Linked DNA regions of Homo sapiens: region 2 is linked to region 1. Evidence: promoter capture Hi-C in human tissues and cell types (Jung and others, 2019). All regions are on one chromosome and are shown on one strand. The core of a region is centred on a gene start or on the middle of the fragment in contact, and the rest is flanking DNA. Distances in the headings are between cores, read along the strand shown. Region 1 holds the start of ATXN7L2 (ataxin 7 like 2). Region 2 has its middle 3.2 kb from the start of GSTM3.

What was found. The method cuts DNA at HindIII sites, captures the fragments that hold promoters and counts their contacts. A contact is called where the count stands out against the background at its distance.
Region 2: a contact is called between a fragment that was not itself captured here and the fragment with the promoter of ATXN7L2 in region 1, in 1 of the 25 tissues and cell types used here (adrenal gland).

The regions. Positions count from the first base shown.
Region 1 is chr1:109,482,551-109,485,423 of GRCh38, forward strand. It overlaps ATXN7L2 (ataxin 7 like 2), which reads left to right and starts at 1,355. Exons shown (of 11, transcript NM_001350175.2): 1 at 1,355-1,530. The coding sequence starts at 1,404. RefSeq lists enhancers at 827-1,444, 1,445-2,064 and a silencer at 1,258-1,427. The HindIII fragment of the contact is 8,644 bases long and covers 1-2,873 here.
Region 2 is chr1:109,742,796-109,745,673 of GRCh38, forward strand. No RefSeq gene overlaps it. Among named protein-coding and RNA genes, the nearest start is that of GSTM3, 3.2 kb to the left of the region's middle. The HindIII fragment of the contact is 3,640 bases long and covers 1-2,878 here.

The DNA of each region.
Region 1 (2,873 bases), core at 105-2,604:
ATCCCTCTTCAGAGAGTCACACACTACATTTACATCCCCTAGAAAAATACCTTGGGTACAATTGAACATTTAATTTTTACCTGATTCCTGGATGCCCTAGGGATCATCTGTGGGTCTCAGGTTGAGATTCCCTGCCCTCAGAGATTATTCTTGAAGTACTTACACCTTCCCTGGATGAAAAGGAGAAGAAAATCTGAGGTCTTGCTCCCCAACTTGTTTTCCCCTTAGCTAAAGGGTCAAGCGTCGGGGGTGAGGTGTGAGAGGTTGAGGAGGAAAAAGGATTAGTATTACTTTTTTAATGCGATGGCGGCGGGGGGGGGGCGGGAAATGGAGTAGGCAGACTTTTGTCTGATTGTGTGAGGGTGGGAAGAAATGTTATCAGCTGAGAAGATGAAAGAAATGGATGATTAAGGTACTTTCCAGACCTTAGCAAGGAAGATGACAGCTCTGATGAGAAATCTCCCTATGCCGAGGCTTCAGAAGCAGCCCTTCCAGCAGAGAAAGTATTCATTAGAAAAAGAAGGCAAAGTGATGGATGGAGTCAGGGTCCAGCCAGGGTTTGGGAAGAGGCTGTACAGGGTATCGATCGCAGTTCTCAAGAGAAGAGAGACAGATCAGCAGAGATGCTGCAAACACCAGCTGCCTCGGGGCCACCCCAGTTCTGGGGCTGGCTCTGGCTCGGAGACAGCCTTCTGTCATCCTGTCATCATGACAGGTGATCTTGGTCAGCTTGGCCAGGTCCTCTCAAATCCAGACAACGCCACGCCAACCCTCTGCTCTGCATCAGGGCAGCGTGGGTTTCCCACAGAGGAGGCACGACACGGGAGCCGAGGCCCTCCCCCACACCACCCCTGTGTCCTTCAGCACCTCCTACAGACTCCCTCCCCTTGCCCTTCTGATTCACAGCGCCCACCTCCCTGCACCTACCCTATTCGATCTACAGGGGAGCGGAGTCGCTTCGTGGCCGCCAGCCCGGGAAGGGGCGCCAGCCAGCTGGCGGACGCACGGCTTAGAGGGGCGTCTGGGCAGAGAGGTTTGGGGCTGGGGAGAGATGCAGTGAGCTTGGGAGAGTGGACTGGTAGCACAAATAATGTGTGCATAAGGGTTAGAAGAGGAGGTCCTGGAGCTTTGGTCTTCTCTTTTCCCCCTGCAATTGTGCATTTCGGAGGGACTCTTGCTGCAAGCTCGGTAGGCAATAGCATCCGCTCCAAGACTACACTTCCCAGAAGGCTGTGAGTGGGTGGGGGGGGGGGGGGCGCGGGGAACAGGCAACCTGTGTTGCGCTTGCGCAAAGACTGCGCTGGAAAGGCAGGTGGGGAGGAGGGGAGGCGTGCCCGCGACGGGGCGAGGGGGAGGGGGCCGCGCGGCGGCGGCGCCAGGGCGGGCGCGCGTCCGCGGCGGTGATGGCGGTGCGTGAACGCGCGGCGGCAGCAATGGCCGCTCTGGAGCGGCGGGTGCCGAGTCTCGATGACTTCGCGGGACAGAGCTGGAGCTCGTGGGTGGAGCGGGCCGACCTGCCCGCGGCTGACGGTGAGTAAAGCCACCCTAAAGTCCGGGGACCCCATCACTATCTCCCCTCCCCCCTTCCGGGCCCCCGCCAGCTGAGGGGAGCCGCCGACTGGAGCCGCCGTCCGGCTCCCCGGCCCCCCAAACAAAGGACCCGCCGGGTCCTAGTGCCCGCCCGCTCCGTCACCTTCGCGCCTCCGGGTCCTAGCGCCTGCTCACCGCTCGCAGCCCACCCTGCCAACCTCTGCCTCTGCCAGTCGCTAATACCTGCCCCCATATAGGCTTGCCTTTATCTTTCTCCTTGCCTGCTGCCCCTCAGCTCGCGACCCTCCTGCACCTGCCTCCAGCTTTCCCTGTCCGCAACAGTCCTCCACGTGTTTCCCACGCACCCCACTTCTGTGCCCCCTTCCTCACCCCCCTTGTTCCTTCGCCTTTTGCCCCACACCTCCTGCTCCTTTTCGGCATTTGCCTGCAGCTGCAGTGCTTTTAGACCCCCGCCCTCTCCGCGTTAGTTCGTCCGTCCATCCATCTATCCTCCCTCCCTCCATCCTTCGGTCCATCCATCCATGCCTCCAACCCACTGTCCTTTCCCAGGCCTCTTGCCCTGCCTCTTGGCTCTCTGCTCTTACTCTCACCTTCTCTAGGCCCCTGAGTGCCTTAGTGAGCGGGCCTACAGCCCCTTCTTCTGATCTTTGTCTTCTGGGCCCCAGGGAGCACCTGGCCTCGTGGCCTTTCGGGGTGACAGCAGGCATCACGCCCCTGAAGAAGTTTGCAAGTGAGAAGAGGTGGAGGAGGAGACTGCACGGAGGGGTCTCTAATGACACTTGTTCTCCTCTGAGACATCCGACTCCCAGTTTCGTTCTATCCATCATTCCCCGCACTTGCATTTAACGGACTTAGAGTGGGAGCTGCCCCTTGTCTCTTGCGTGCCTAACCCACGACCCCTCATAATCTGGATATTATATAAGATTGTCAACAATCTTCTCATCCTAGAAAGGAGCATATCTGTTAATGGGCATCAGAGAGCAGACCTAAGTGGGAGCCCAGGCCACCCTGGGGCTGCCCCATGCTGGGTGGGCAAAGATGGGGCCATTGTCAGGGTCTGGGTGCATTGAGAACCGGAAATGGAGTCAGACGGGTTTGGTGACTCAGAATTGATTTTTTTTTTCCCAAGGGACAGGGAGGGGGCGTAGAGGAGGGAGGGGGGAGGAGAGAGGTAGGGGGATGGGGAAAAAGCTGCTTTGCACAGCTAAGATGTTTTTGTCATTAACCCAGAAACTGAGGTACAAGGGCAACCCCTGCCCAAAGGCCCTCTAAGAAGGGGAGGGACTTGCATAGCTGACCAAGGAGACTTTGAAGATGCTCAA
Region 2 (2,878 bases), core at 230-2,729, 260 kb after region 1:
ACTTTAAGTTTCAGGGTATATGTGCACAATGTGCAGGTTTGTTACATATGTATACATGTGCCATGTTGGTGTGCTGCACCCATTAACTCCTCATTTAACACTAGGTATATCTCCTAATGCTATCCCTCCCCCCTCCCCCCACCCCACAACAGTCCCTGGAGTGTGATGTTCCCCTTCCTGTGTCCATGTGTTCTCATTGTTCAGTTCCCACCTATGAGTGAGAACATGCGGTGTTTGGTTTTTTGTCCTTGCGATAGTTTGCTGAGAATGATGGTTTCCAGTTTCATCCATGTCCCTACAAAGGACATGAACTCATCATTTTTTATGGCTGGATAGTATTCCATGGTGTATATGTGCCATGTTTTCTTAATCCAGTCTATCGTTGTTGGACATTTGGGTTGGTTCCAAGTCTTTGCTATTGTGAATAGTGCCGCAATAAACATACGTGTGCATGTGTCTTTATAGCAGCATGATTTATAATCCTTTGGGTATATACCCAGTAATGGGATGGCTGGGTCAAATGGTATTTCTAGTTCTAGATCCCTGAGGAATCGCCACACTGACTTCCACAATGTTGAACTAGTTTACAGTCCCACCAAAAGTGTAAAAGTGTTCCTATTTCTCCACATCCTCTCCAGCACCTCGTTTCCTGACTTTTTAATGATTGCCATTCTAACTGGTGTGAGATGGTAACTCATTGTGGTTTTGATTTGCATTTCTCTGATGGCCAGTGATGGTGAGCATTTTTTCATGTGTTTTTTGGCTGCATAAATGTCTTCTTTTGAGAAGTGTCTGTTCATATCCTTTGCCCACTTTTTGATGGGGTTGTTTGTTTTTTTCTTGTAAATTTGTTTGAGTTCATTGTAGATTCTGGATATTAGCCCTTTGTCAGATGAGTAGGTTGTGAAAATTTTCTCCCATTTTGTAGGTTGCGTGTTCACTCTGATGGTAGTTTCTTTTGCTGTGGAGAAGCTCTTTAGTTTAATTAGATCCCATTTGTCAATTTTGGCTTTTGTTGCCATTGCTTTTGGTGTTTTAGACATGAAGTCTTTGCCCATGCCTATGTCCAGAATGGTATTGCCTAGGTTTTCTTCTAGGGTTTTTATGGTTTTAGGTCTAACATGTAAGTCTTTAATCCATCTTGAATTAATTTTTGTATAAGGTGTAAGGAAGGGATCCAGTTTCAGCTTTCTACATATGGCTAGCCAGTTTTCCCAGTACCATTTATTAAATAGGGAATCCTTTCCCCATTGCTTGTTTTTGTCAGGTTTGTCAAAGATCAGATGGTTGTACATATGTGGCATTATTTCTGAGGGCTCTGTTCTGTTCCATTGATCTATATCTCTGTTTTGGTACCAGTACCATGCTGCTTTGGTTACTGTAGCCTTGTAGTATAGTTTGAAGTCAGGTAGCATGATGCCTCTGGCGTTGTTCTTTTGGCTTAGGATTGACTTGGCAATGCGGGCTCTTTTTTGGTTCCATATGAACTTTAAAGTAGTTTTTTCCAATTCTGTGAAGAAAGTCATTGGTAGCTTGATGGGGATGGCATTGAATCTGTAAATTACCTTGGGCAGTATGGCCATTTTCATGATATTGATTCTTCCTACCCATGAGCATGGAATGTTCTTCCATTTGTTTGTATCCTCTTTTATTTCCTTGAGCAGTGGTTTGTAGTTCTCCTTGAAGAGGTCCTTCACATCCCTTGTAAGTTGGATTCCTAGGTATTTTATTCTCTTTGAAGCAATTGTGAATGGGAGTTCACTCATGATTTGGCTCTCTGTTTGTCTGTTATTGGTGTATAAGAATGCTTGTGATTTTTGTACATTGATGTTGTATCCTGAGACTTTGCTGAAGTTGCTTATCAGCTTAAGGAGATTTTGGGCTGAGACAATGGGGTTTTCTAGATATACAATCATGTCATCTGCAAACAGGGACAATTTGACTTCCTCTTTTCCTAATTGAATACCCTTCATTTCCTTCTCCTGCCTAATTGCCCTGGCCAGAACTTCCAACACTATGTTGAATAGGAGCGGTGAGAGAGGGCATCCCTGTCTTGTGCCAGTTTTCAAAGGGAATGCTTCCAGTTTTTGCCCATTCAGTATGATATTGGCTGTGGGTTTGTCATAGATAGCTCTTATTATTTTGAGATACGTCCCATGAATACCTAATTTATTGAGAGTTTTTAGCATGAAGTGTTGTTGAATTTTGTTAGAGGCTGTTTCTGCATCTATTGAGATAATCATTTGGTTTTTGTCTTTGGTTCTGTTTATATGCTGGGTTACATTTATTGATTTGCGAATGTTGAACCAACCTTGCATCCCAGGGATGAAGCCCACTTGATCATGGTGGATAAGCTTTTTGATGTGCTGCTGGATTCTGTTTGCCAGTATTTTATTGAGGATTTTTGCATCAATGTTCATCAAGGATATTGGTCTAAAATTCTCTTTTTTGGTTGTGTCTCTGCCCGGCTTTGGTATCAGGATGATGCTGGCCTCATAAAATGAGTTAGGGAGGATTCCCTCTTTTTCTATTGATTGGAATAGTTTCAGAAGGAATGGTGCCAGCTCCTCCTTGTACCTCTGGTAGAATTCGGCTGTGAATGCATCTGGTCCTGGACTTTTTTTGACTGGTAAGCTATTGATCGTTGCCACAATTTCAGAGCCTGTCATTGGTCTATTCAGAGATTCAACTTCTTCCTGGTTTAGTCTTGGGAGGGTGTATGTGTCGAGGAATTTATCCATTTCTTCTAGATTTTCTAGTTTATTTGCGTAGAGGTGTTTGTAGTATTCTCTGATGGTAGTTTGTATTTCTGTGGGATCAGTGGTGATATCCCCTTTATCATTTTTTATTGCGTCTATTTGATTCTTCTCTCTTTTCT